2 separate regions of the Homo sapiens genome follow, and region 1 is linked to region 2. The links are contacts of gene promoters, found by promoter capture Hi-C in blood cells and fetal thymus (Javierre and others, 2016). All regions are on one chromosome and are shown on one strand. The core of a region is centred on a gene start or on the middle of the fragment in contact, and the rest is flanking DNA. Distances in the headings are between cores, read along the strand shown.

Evidence for each region. Contacts are between HindIII fragments. The CHiCAGO score rates a contact against its expected background, and 5 or more counts as called.
Region 1: a fragment that was not itself captured here is called in contact with the fragment with the promoter of ZNF750 in region 2 in 1 of 17 cell types (neutrophils); the score reaches 5.9 in neutrophils.

What each region holds. Positions count from the first base shown.
Region 1 is chr17:83,173,269-83,180,396 of GRCh38, forward strand. The region is part of intron 2 of LOC101929650 (a long non-coding RNA gene); the gene reads left to right. LOC124904105 (a long non-coding RNA gene) reads left to right here. Exons shown (of 2, transcript XR_007065981.1): 2 at 4,221-4,339. Among named protein-coding and RNA genes, the nearest start is that of METRNL, 97 kb to the left of the region's middle. The HindIII fragment of the contact is 9,987 bases long and covers 1-6,467 here.
Region 2 is chr17:82,836,103-82,842,269 of GRCh38, forward strand. ZNF750 (zinc finger protein 750) reads right to left here and starts at 3,920. Exons shown (of 3, transcript NM_024702.3): 1 at 3,825-3,920. All of the region lies in intron 13 of TBCD (tubulin folding cofactor D), which reads left to right. RefSeq lists an enhancer at 1,451-1,952. The HindIII fragment of the contact is 6,856 bases long and covers 3,602-6,167 here.

The sequences.
Region 1 (7,128 bases), core at 224-2,723, 330 kb after region 2:
GCAGTGCGGCGAGGAGGGCTGGGTCAGCAGTGGGGTCAGGGGTGCGGCGAGGAGGGCTGGGTCAGCAGTGGGGTCAGCAGTGTGGCGAGGAGGGCTGGGTGAGCAGTGGGGTGAGGGGTGTGGTGAGGAGGGCTGGGTCAGCAGTGGGGTGAGGGGTGCGGCGAGGAGGGCTGGGTGAGCAGTGGGGTCGGGGTGCGGCGAGGAGGGCTGGGTCAGCAGTGGGGTCAGCAGTGTGGTGAGGAGGGCTGGGCGAGCAGTGGGGTCGGGGTGCAGCGAGGAGGGCTGGGTCAGCAGTGGGGTCGGGGTGCAGCGAGGAGGGCTGGGTGAGCAGTGTTGGCCTCTTCCCCGCTCTGCCCAGTACCTAGAGTGCTGCCACGTCTGGTGAAGGACTCAGTAAATACTTGGTGAAGGATCAGATGAAGAAGGAAAAGTTGTCAGTGCTGAGGCAGGAGAAGCCAACCTCAGCATCTGAGCCTGAGTGGTGGTGGGGCAGGGTCCTGCCCAGAGAAAGGTGATCCCCTTCCCGAGGGGAGGGCTGGCACGGTGCTCAGGAGCAAGGGCTGCAGGCCCACAGGACCTTTGTTCATCTGACCTGTGTCCCCATGCCAGGCTCTGTCCCAAGCGGGCTGAGGCAGATGGCCTAGGCAGCCGTCGGTGAACCCTCCCTGGCTCCAGAGCCTGTGCAGGCCCCGTGGGGGTCAGGCTGCTGTGGGGGGCTTGAGGACCCTCACTTTTGGCCCCTGGAGGCCCCGACGAGGCGGCCCTTGAGGTTCAACTGGACAGTATTCCCCTGACCCCTGAGCAGAGTGTGGCATCAAGACCCCGACAGTGAGGCCAGTCCCAGGCCGGGATTCGGTGCCCTCCTTTAATGTGTGTGCGAGTGCCCACAGGCCTCACTCAGCCTAGAGGAAGGTGGGCTTGCGAGCTGGGGCCTGTCTCATGCTTTGCCTCCGTGGCATTGGCTGCGCCTCACTCCTGCACTGTGGCTTCCATGTGTTGAAAGGCGAGTTCCATAGGTGAGAACAGCTCCCTCCCAGCACACCACCGGCCTTTGCTCGTGTACAGTATTTACCCAATGCCGGTGAACACGAGCAGCCTCCATATTCTTGCACCAAGGCTGGAGAAGGACCCAGCCTGCAACACAGCTCATGAGGCATCAGGGGCCAAGCACCTACCGTCTTGATGACTGGGGGATGGTGCCCAGGTCTGTCTGCCCCCACTGTCCAGTGGATGGTGTGGGAAGGCATTGCAGGCTGGCTGAGCAGGTTACATAACAGTGCACACATGGGTTTACTTTACTTGAAACCCTAAACCCTCTGCAAACAGCCCCCTCCCTAATCCCTCCCTGTTGACTCTGTAGATGAGCCCAGGGTGCTGAAAGATGCAGCTGCATGCCTCTGCAGCCAGGCCCAGGGCCTGCAACATCCTTCAGCCAAACGTGGGTCCCTGGGGAGCCTCTGTGGCCTCGCCGGTTTCGATGAAGGCCAGAGGACTGGCTGCACGGGTTGCCTCAGCTCTGCCTGCCTCTCTGTTCGTGCCTCTCTCCTACCTGGCGGGGGTGTCTCTGTTGGCCTCAGAGATGTCGCTGGTGCTCACCCTGGTCACACTGACCACTGGGCATCCTCCCACCCCCTGGGCCACTTCTGTCTCTGCACTTGGCTTCCCTGCCCACGGCGTGGCACCCAAACAAAGCCCACAGAGAGGCTGGCGCCCTCCTCAGCCAGATGCCTGCATTTAATAGAAGATGCAGAGACACAATCTAAGCCAAAGGAATGAATCTCTAGTGGTGAAATAGCATCTGGTAAGAGGAGAGATTTCTGAAAGGAGGCCCCTTTCTCCTTCTCGCCCCTCCTTGCTCTGGAGGCTGAGTCCAGCTGCTCCTCCCATGCCCCTGCCCAGAGGGCAACGTGCACCAGGGCCTGAGAGCACAGACAGGTCTAGGTGGGATCCGTGTCAGCACCGCAGGGCACACGAGCGACTCGGCAGGCTCCAGAGTTTGGCTCATTTTCTGCTTGGTCCCTTTTTGATGCCTGTGATTTATTTATAACAATAGTTTGCATAATTCCAAATGTGGTGACACAGCATGCAGACGCTGAGTGAAATGAAGACAGAACAGATTTTTCAGAGGGGTAGTGGTGTGGAGCAGGCTGGGCCGCGAGTGATAGAACTGAGCCCCAGGTTGTGCTCGGAGTCTCCTGGTGCCAGAACACTGGGCTTCCGTGGGACCTGAGGGGCTGAAACGGTGCTGGACCTGGACCCTTCCTCACAGTCACCCTCAGGTAGCCCATCTCAGACAGGAGGGGACCCCTTGTCCCCCATCCCCATGTTCGGAGCGTGCTGAGCTGCACACAGTCCTCCCTGGGTCTGAGACCGCTGGTCCTGCCCCCACCCCAGCTCTCTCCCCTCTGGGTCTTGGGTTTCAGCTGTGATGTCATCCTGCTTGCCTGGAGTCCAGAGGGGTTAGCTGGGGGGCTCTTGTTTGCCCAGAATTCCTTGTGGCTGTCCAGTCTCAGTGCCCACTGTGATGCCTGACCCTCCGTGAGAGCCAGCACTCAGGTCAGAGATCGTAACCTCCCGAGTGCTGAGTGTCTCCGGCGCTGCCCAAGCTCAGGGCATGTTTGTGTCTCAGTTCAGGGCATGTTTATGAATTGACAAATGAAGTTTTGGAAGAGGACAAGTTCACATACACTTGACCACCGAGAGATAGAGGGAGGGTTTCACATAGCTCTCTACCATGGGGGGGAGCGGTTTTCCCCTGGGGCCTAGTGTGTGGCCCTGTCCAAGCTCACCCAGCCTCCCCTTGAGGGAGCACCATAGATTCCGGATGCTCAGACCATGTTGGAAGCTCAGGCCTTTGGAACACCTCAGATCCTACTCCAGCCTTTCTAGAAGCTGGGGTTTAATATATCTTAGCAGATGGGAATGTCCTGTCACTCAGAGAAAAGGCTGGGCAAGGTCTCTCTGGGGATGAAACCACTTAGCGCTCTTCTTTTGGGGGATTTAAGCGCAAATGATTCAGAAACAGTCAGGCTTCATTTCTTGACACGGGGCTGGAGGAGGTGAGAAGGGCATTGACCAAATGAAATTTGGGTTTGGTCCAAGTCAGAAATGTGTGAGATGAATGGGGACAGGTTTCCCGAGCCCATTTAGGTCTGTGCACGGTTACCAACAGCAGCAGCAGCAGCGGAGGCTGGGGCACCAGGGTGGGGCTCCTGAATGGGACATGAAGAAGGGTTACCCCTTCTGCCATAAGCAACAGGCAGGGCAGATTTTACAAACGCGTTTTCTAGCATTGTTTCTTTCAGCCCAAAAGAGTTCTGTGAGTTCATCTTCAGAAATCAAGTTTCTGAGAGGTGGGGACATCCAAGGACACTGGAGATTGGGATGTCCGGGAAAACGGGGTCTTCAGGCCCGATCTCTGCCCACCTTCCATGCCCTTTCCCCAGCCTGCCCCTCCAGGGTGCAGCCTCCCCATGCCGACGAGGTTCCCTGGCACAAGCAGGCTGGTGTGCATGTCTGTGCTTTGGCTGCAGGAGCTGCAGAGAGGGTGATGTCAGGTCCATGTTGTGTAGAGAGAATTCCGACATCGCCCAGCAGGTGCTCGGGTGCCGTGTCCAGCAGCTTGGTGGGCTTCCTCAGCCCCTCAGACCCCCAAAACCATTTTCTTTTTTTGCATCCATCAATGTCCCGCACAGGAGCAGGCCCCTCCCAGGTGAGGTGGGCTTGGATGCAGGAGGGAAGTGGTAAAGACCCCTCCCAGAGACAATGCAGAATTGGCCTACACGGGTGGGGCATTGGAAGCCAGCTCTGGGGGTACTGACTCAGGAAGATGTGCCTCAGCTGAGCCCCGGGCATTAGGAATTGGCTGCAGGCATGGACAGTGGACACGGAGCAGGGAGGCCCAACGCTACCTGCCTACAGGGGAGCCTGGGACGTGGGCTTCTGTTCCGCAGCCTGCAGAGCCTGCTGGAGCCGGGCTGGTGTCGAGGACCACCTGGCGCCCAGCAGGTCCCCCTGCAGCTTGTTTTCTGGGAAAGCAATGGACTGAATGCCTGTGTCCCCCCAAATTCATGTGTTGAAATCAACCCTCAAGGTGATGGCATTTGGGGGTGCAGCCTTTAGGAGGTGATGGGGTCATGAGGGCGGAGGCTCATGAACGGGGTTACTGCCCTTACAGAAGAGGCCTAAGGGATGCCCCTCTCTTCCTCCACATGACACAGTGAGAAGGTGGCTGTCTGCAAGCCAGGAAGAGGGCCCTCACCAGAACCCAACTCAGCTGGTACCGTCTGCAGCTTCCAAACTCCAGAACTGTGAGAAATAAATGTGTGTTGTTATTAAATCGTCTTGGTGTTTTGCTAGAGAAGCCCTAGCTAAGGCACCTTCCGTTCTCCCACCTCTTCCTCCTGGGGCAAGGCCTGGGTGAGGCCCCATAAGCCAGCGAGTGGCTTCAAGCTGGTGGCACAGCCAGTTTCAAGCCGTCTCTGGGGTACGTGGCACACACAAGAGCCGGGCTGTGTAACCTGCAGCCCACGGCTCCACAGAGGGGCTGTGCCGCCCGGGGACACTTTCTCTGCAGGTCTCTGGCTTCAACCCTCCTTGCCGCTTGTGTGCCGGGATGCACTTTTGGGGCAGCTGGCAGCCTTTTAGCCTCAGCTCCTCTGTGGGGACAGAGCCAAGACTGATCGCAAGGCCAAGACCTAGGAGTCCAGGGGAGGCCCTCGGCTCTGTCCTTCCTGCCGGCCCGGCTCCTGCTCATTCCACTAACAGGCATCTCCCTGATGAAATCCTCGAGAGGTTAGTCCTGTCTCGGCGGCAGCTGCTCAGAGCACCGGGCTGTCCTCTGGCCCCTCCGAAAGCATGGCCCTGAATCACTGGGGGAGCCTCACCAGGCAGAGATGGCTCATCCCCATGGACCTGGGCCCCCGGGTCCCGGCCCCCCTGGCCTGGCCAGCACCTGACGCTGCTGTGAGGAGCATATGGTCAAATCTGCACCTGCTGCCGGCCACAAGGGAGGAGCAAGTGCTGAGTGCCCCTGGGCCACCTGACCAAGAGGTGTCCTTGTGTCCCTCGCCCCCTGCCCCAGACGTGCCTCTCGGGACCTTCAGGCCACGGTGCTATTTATTACCCACTTGAGGACAAACTCGGAGCCAACCCACAGGCCTATGTGGCAGGACTGGCCACACCTGGGCCCAGACACGCTGCAGCTTTGCGACTCCGGCCACAGATCCCGGGGACTGACTGGGGTTGCAGGCCTTGGGCCAGCCCCTGAACCTGGCCGTGCCTCACAGAGCTTTGGTGGGGATGACATGAGTGGATACATTCAAAGGGTTTAAAACGGCGCCTGGCACACTGCATCCGTGCTGCTGTGATTCTATTTGAGTTGGTGCTTTCCAGATCGGTTTCTCTCTGTGACGATCCAGAATCTGTGTTCCGTGCCCAGGCCCAGGAGTGAGGAGAGGCCAACAGGGAGGAGAGGAGGGCTCCTGCCTCAGGGAAACGGAGCCCGTGCAGGAGGTCCTGGCCGGGCAGCATGGGGCTCAGGACGGATGCCCGTGGCGGGTCACCCCCCACAGCAGTCACAGCCGGGGGGCCCCCAGGCCTCAGGGTTCCACGGAGCAGGTTGGGCAAGTGTGTTAGGACCATCAGCAACCTGTGTGCAGCCAAAGACAGCAAGGACAGAGCCAGGAACTCCGGCTTCTGCCTCCTCTCCCTGTGCCGCCTCTCCTGGCTGAGGGCTGGAGAGAGAAGGCCACGGAGCGAGAGTGGCAGCCCTCAAGGGACGCAGGCTCAGTGCTGGCTGCAGGGGAGCTGCGAGGGCCTCAGGCGAGGGAGCTGCGAGGAGGCCGCTGCGGCCCAGTCCGTCTGTTCCCTGAGCTGATGACAAACCGTTTGTTTTCTGTGAAAGGTGCTTTACTGGGAGAAAGGCTAACAGTGAGGCAGCTCTGAAGTGCTTTTATTCTCAGTTTCCTCTGTCGCTTAAAGACCACTTCACATTTCTTTTTATTTACACGGATAAGGATGGATGAGCTTGATGTTCTCCCACCTTCCTCTTGGCGCAGCTTTCTTCTCCTCCCTCTTGGAAGGACTTTCGCTTTTTATTATTATTTTAAACGTTTTAAACAACAATCTCCCAGGCGCCCAACAAAGGCGCTACTGGTGCCAGGTGCTTGGCGCCTGCCTTCCCTGACAACACACGGGCCACATCCTCAGCCCCCCCGGCTGGTGGCCTGTGACTCCCGCCCCAGTGCCAGACTCTTTATTTCATTTTGTTGGCATGGTGGAAAACACTGGCTTTTCAGGAGGTGACCCTGCTTTCAAGAGCCAACCTTTGGAGAAAACAGGACACAGAAGCTGGTTTTGGCTGTGAGGCCCTGACGCACGGATGCAGGTTGCACAGGCCCCATGTCCTCCTCACAGCCTGCCTTTCCAGCTGGCTCAGGAGTCCCTGCGGCTTGAGTTTATCCAGAAGCTTCCCTTTCTCCCGCAAGAGCTACTCGTGGAAGAGACCAGTTTTAAGTGATTTTGCCGCATTTGACCTTTTGGGTATTTCAGTGAAAACAAAACCTCTTCCACAATGCAAAAACTTGGATTCAACAACCATCGATTATTCCCTCTGGGCACCTCACAGAGCTGGGGTGAAGGCCACCTGGGGTTCACGGGACTCACCGTTGGGTGTTGGCATTGAGTCTTGTAGAGCAGGGACTGGCAAAGTCAGAGCACAGGGCCTGGTGTGAATCCCACCTCCTTCCCCGACTGGCCAGGGGACCTGCAGCAAGCGCTCAGCATCTCTGAGCCTTAGTTTCTTCCTCTGCACGGGGAGCTCAGCGGTGGCACCCACTTCATTTCAGTGGTGCCCCCTTAGTCATGGATGATATAAAAATGTTGCCACAAAAGTAACCAAGACAGGTCGGGATGAGATATGCACGACTTCTAAACCCAATTAGGGATTAATTAGGAACATACAATAAATTCCCCCAATTCATAAGAAAAAGACAGGAACTCCGGTGGATGAATGGACAGATGATATTAATAGGCAATTTTCAGAGGAATTTAAAGCAGCAGACAGATCCATCATACCTGCCAGACAGGTGTGCGCTGCCTGGTGTGACCCTGCTGGAGGCAGTGAGG
Region 2 (6,167 bases), core at 2,670-5,169:
ACGTGAAATAATTCTTTATGGGCTCAGTCCCTACCGTGTGGGGCAGACCTGCTCTGGGTGATGAAAGCAGTTTCCCTGCCTCCCTTCAGGAAGTAGAGAAGCCGGGTGCCTGGTTCCAGCCAAACGCTGGGCCAGCCAGCTCAGTCAGTGGGGCCTGTGCCGGCATGCCTCGCCGCGCTCCCTGGTTCTGAAGGCGTGAGAACCTCTGCAAGTCAGGTTCCCATGATTGTATAGGATGTGTTACGGCAGGGATCTGAAAGCTGATGATTTCATCACTAGCTGGAAGCATCAGGATCGAAACGATGACAGTTGCAAAATGTTCATCAAGTGAGAGCTGCGTCCTCGCGAGACCGAAACGCCGCCTCTAGCACCTGAAACACAAGCCCTCAGAGGAGCAGATGATTCCCTCAGGATTTAAGAAAATTGAGGACTTCAGTTTTCGAAGCCGCATTATTTCACATTGCTGATACCTCTAGCGCCTGAAACACAAGCGCTCAGAGGAGCAAATGATTCCCTCAGGATTTAAGAAAATGAGGACTTCAGTTTTCGAAGCAGCATTATTTCACATTGCTGATACTTTTAGGCAAAAAAAAAAACAAAACAAAACAAAACCAAAAAACAAAAAAACAAAAAAACCCACAAAACCCGTGTTGGTTAGATTTTCTCAAAAGCTTTACAACAGGCAGGTTACGTGTAAGCTCTGCTGTTGCCCAAAATAGTAATTAGGGAAATAATTGCTTTTAAATGAATATGTCTGTTTTCTAGTCAGATTTGCCCTTTTGTTCTTTGATCAGTTAGTTCACGTAAGCGGGTGTGGCAGGGAGGAAGCCCCTGGTGGTGAGAGTGTTTGGAGCTCAATTGCTCGAAGGGAATTGGTGTCGATATGGAGTCTCGGGCAGTGGTTTTAGTAACCTTGGATAAACCGACCTCTCAGGCTTGCACAATTTGCTAATTAAAACAGGGAGCACAGCTGCTTCAGTTGTAAGCCGGGCGTAGGTCACCTGATCTGTAAAACTACAATAGTGTCAGAGAAGTAAGTGGGATAACATTGTTGCTTTGGTAAGCTTTCAAATGATGATGATGTCAGCCTGTGAGTTCTGTGTCCTGCTTAAGTGAGGTTTATAAGGATGAAGAAACCAAACCCGACGGCCAGTACCTCAGGCTGTCACAGCTGTCTGTGGGCACAGCGTTTGAAATAGTCTCTGTGTGGTCAGTTTCTACCAGCCCGACTTTGTACTCTGGCAGCTGCTGGTGTTAAATATTCCCAAAAGAGTATGTTGTTGCCCAAACAGTGTAACCCAGAAATCTAGCTGTTTACAGTAATTTGGATTTGTATTTAGAGGTGCAGTTTTTCTCTAGAGGGGATAAAGAAGTGCGGAGCGTCTTTCTCTCCTGGGGGAGGTGTGTTTCCATTTTAGTTAATAACATGCCCGGAGAGCTGTCTGTCTGTCTGTTAATAAAGCAGAGTCTCATTCATTATCTGCTTTCATTTGAGAACTGCAGTGCTAGCGTGTTTTACAGTGAAGACCTCGGTGTGATCCTGAAGGAGGGTTTCATCCTCCTCTCATTTCCCACTGGATCGGCAGGAAGCGTTAGCAGGGTGGACATGCCACAGAGCTTCCAGATCTGGATCAAAGGTGGCTGTTGCTGAAATACTTATGCAGAGTCTTCCCTGACTGCTGCTGGCTAATGTGTGCCCTCTTCTCCAACACACCTCCTCCGAGCCTGGCCTGGCACAAAGCCTTCTTTCTCCAAGTTATTTCAGATCAAGCAGCCAATGTAGACAGTGTCTACACTAAAGGGCGTAAGAACAGTGGGGTGCAGTGGCTTCAAACATGCTCAGGATCCAGCTGAGCTTTCACCAGGCTTTTCTTGCCATATTTACAGATGCCACTCTGTGCCTTTCTAAATATTTTAAATGTTGTGTGCTCAGCCGATGCACTTGGCTTCTGGAAAGTGCGCTGAGCTGAGAGCTCGCTTCTCTTCCTGCTCAACGTGCACTGGGCCGGGTGTTGGGGCGTAGCTGCCCACACAGACAGTGCTTTGAAGAGTGAGTGGTTTCGGTTGGCCATGGGGTTGTGTCTAAATTGCCAATATACTGTCTTTCCAAAGGTTCCTAAGTGTGGACAGTTAATGCAGCAGACAGTTGTTAGGGTAATAGTGAGAAGTTGGGATGCTTAACAAGCTTCTAAGGAGTTTGAACTTTGAAAAATAGACAAGAGAAAGAGTTCTTAAAAAAAAAAACTTTGATAGGACACAGCGGAAGTAATTACAGTTTAACTTTATGGGACGTTTCTGTGACAGGCTGGGTAACTATGCTTGTCATGCGTCCTAACCTGTGCCCTGAGATTGTGCTGTAATGTTCCTTTTGGTGGTGTCCAGCTGTCTGGCAAGGAGCCTGCTCGGCTGGAGCATTGTGAAGGGCATGCTGTAATTACAATATTGTGATGTGGCGTTGTTGCATAACTCAAGGACACACCATTGTCGCCTACCCACTGTGATGTCGCAAGAACGAGATTTGTGAGTTTTACTCCAATTGAGCTTTTCCAGTGATTGACTGCCACTCCCTCCCAGCCTTTCGGTTCTTTAAAATGAAAGATAAACCTCAGGACAACCAAGACCTGGGGAAAAGACAGTCTTTGGGAATGTAATTTGGAAGAATGGATCCAGAAAAACAACCAGGGGCTCTTAACTCTAGTTTCGGCAGGAGATCCCGAGTTACAGACCTGAGCTCGTAAACAAACGCTCACCACTTTACAGTCGCCGCCTCATCCTGAAACTCCGGTCAGAAATGCTGGAAGGCCTTTGCTAATGCGCAGTGAAAATTAGGGGCACAGATGTGGACGGACTGTGCTTGGTCAGTAATTGTTCTCCTCCAAATCAAGTTTATGAGAAATTTCATATAAGGAAAAAAACCCTTTTGTATCTGTGTCTATATGTACAGAAGACCTTAACAACCAAACAGAAACTTAACCCCTTTGGTTTGGTTTTGTTTTCGAAAGCTTATGCCCAATTTTAAACTTCATGTAAGCTTATGTACTTATTTTAAACTTTAAAACTATTAAAAGTTAAACTAGATAGTAAATTCGGCACTGTCTAATGTGCATACACCACAAACATATAACCCTAAATTCAGCTGTGTCTAATGTGTATACACCACACATATATATAACCCTAAATTCAGCCTGATGTACTTATACCACACATATATAACCCTAAATTCAGCCTAATGTACATATACCACACACACATATATATAACCCTAAATTCAGCCTAATGTACATACACCACACATATATATAACCCTAAATTCAGCCCTAATGTACATACACCACACATATATAACCCTAAATTCAGCCTAATGTACATACACCACACATATATATAACCCTAAATTCAGCCCTAATGTACATACACCACACATATAACCCTAAATTCACCCTAATGTACATACACCACACATATATATATGACCCTTACCTCTTGTTAGCATTTATTGTAGTTTGTTTTTGAGGTTAGGAGCAGTTAAGCAATAATATGAATTTGTGTTGGTTTAACTTTTATGAATTTTAGGGCAGAACAAGGAGTTAATTTCCAGATAAGCTTGTTCATGTTCTTAGAATAAAGTGTCAGCCTCATTAGAAGTTTTGTAATCGTGGTCTGCATCCCAGCCATGCACCTGCTGGGTCCTGAGTAATCCTCGGAGCCCAGAGCAAGGCAGAGCAGACACGGAGCAAACGCTGCGTTCAGCTGGGTATTTTAGATACGTCTGAGAAGAGTTTTAAAATAAAACTTGAATTTGAAAAGAAATAGTGAGTACTTACCAGAGGTGGGCAGTGCTGGGATGTGGCCGGTCTTGGTGCCGGTGGCTGGCGGTGCTCAGGAAGCAGTACCTGTTCTCACGCTTGCTGGGTGAAACTGGAGCCTGCTGTTCCAGTGGGAGGGATTTAAGTGTAGGAGTTGAGCCCTCGGGGCGTAGAGATGCACCTGATATTCCTCCTGCCCGCAGCTACGATTCATGTGTTTGCACCCACCGAGCTGCTGCGGGCAGCCTCCCCAGCACTGGACCCAGCAAGCAAGTTATCTCGCCGACTCCCAGCGCTGTCTCCAGACTCAACTGTCTGTGAGTGCGGCGTCGGTGCTGCCTGGACGGCCATATGTCAGAGGGCTTTCGATGTGTCCGCAGTTAGAATAGAGATTACTATATTCATCAGAATCACACCCGATGAATATTTGGCGTCATGATAAAGACATGTGAGACTTTCCTTTAGAACTTGAGCATGTGTACGCAGGAGGCAAACACTTGGATTGATTCTCAAGCGCGCATACCCTGGGAGGCACAGTATTCATGGCGTCCTTGCCATGAGGTCCAGTGAGGCCTTTGAGGATCTGTGGACCTTCCACCCTCTACCCTGCTCCTGAGAGTCTCTGTCCCTGGTCCTCCTCAGGAGCTGAGCCGGCAGGGAGGGAGCTTATCCCAGAGCCTGGCTGCAGGGACCTGCCGGAGCTTGCCCGACACCAGGCACCGCAAGAGCTGCGGAGCAGGGTGTGTGGGTGCGGGGGAGGGGGCCAGCTGTGCACTCCCGCAAACCACCCTCCCCCCACTTTAAATTGCAGAGGCACTTAACTTGGGGGCCAGTTTTTACCTCCACACCCCCCCACCAAAACTGCTTGCTTGCTTAATCGGAGGCCGCACCCCAGTTGTAGCGAAGGCTGGCATGTGGTGTCGGTTTGAGGACTGGGAAAGGAGGTGGGATGAGCTGGTGTCAGGCCCTTGGATGAGCCTGAGGCTGCAGGGCAGAGGCTGCAGGGCTGTGGCATAGGGACGAGCTGGCCAGGACAGACAAACTGGTTTTTTTTTTTTTTTTTTTTTTTTTTTTTGAGACAGAGTTTCACTGTTGCTGCCCAGGCTGGAGTGCAATGGCATGATCTTGGCTCACTGCGTTTCTCCTGCCTCAGCCTCCCGAGTAGCTGGGACTACAGGCGCCTGCCACCACGCCCGGCTAATTTTTTGTATTTTTAGTAGAGATGGGGTTTCACCGTGTTAGCCAGGATGGTCTTGATCTCCTGACCTTGTGATCCACCCACGTCGGCCTCCCAAAGTGCTTGGATTACAGGTGTGAGCCACTGCACCCGGTCTGTTTTTTTGTTTTTGTTATTTTTTTCCTTAAGACTTAAGATTTTACATGGCTTTGCGTTTACTTTTATATTTAATTCCTTTTTTTTTTCTTTTGAGACAGGGTCTTGCCCTGTCACCCAAGCTGGAGTGCAGTGGTGCGATCACGGTTCACTGTAGCCTCAACCTCCTGGACTCGAGTGATCCTCCCGCCTCAGTCTCCCCAGTAGCTGGGACTACAGGCACGGTCACTATGCCTGGAGAATTTTTTGTAGAGACAGGGTTTTGCCATGTTTCCTAGGATGGTTTAATACCTTAAAATTTTTTTTGGTGGCTTTTGTCCATTGAGACATCCATATACTTTATGAAGTCAAAAAGAGTTATGTAAGTCTTATGACAAAAAACAGCAGTTCCCTGTCCCTCTTACCTATTCCTGGATAGCAAACTATCCCAAACTTAGTGGCTTAAAACAAGCACCGTTTTATTACGTCTTAGGATATATTGTGTCAGGAGTTTGTGGAGGGCCTGGCCGAGTGCTGCTTCTGTTTCATGGACACTGACTGAGGTGGCTCCGTGGGAGAAAGCTGGCAGGTGACTGGTCTGGAGGGTCCAGGACAGCTTTACTCACCTGCCTTCTGTCCTGGAGGGGCAGCTGGAATCCTGAGATCAGCTGGAACCTCATCCTCACTTAGTAGCACTTCAGAGGCCTCCCTAGCAGGGTGGTCAGCTGTATGATGGCTCAGGACTTCAAGAGAGCAAGGCGGAAGGTTCCAGTCCTCCAGAAGGCTGGGCCGCAGATTGTCAGGGTGTCCCTTCTGTCACCTTTCTCTGCTGAGGCAGCCTCGTGCTGCCCAGATGCAAGGCGGGAGCCGAGGGCTCCACCTCTCAGCGGCAGGAGTGCCAGGTGTCTGCGCTACGACTCCCTCTGCCCGGAAGCCCCACCTTGGCCTTTCCTAAGCTGAGTGTTCTGACCCTTGCCATGGAGGGTCCAGTGAGGCCTTTGAGAATCTGTGTACCTTCCACCCTCTACCCTGCTCCTGAGAGTCTCTGT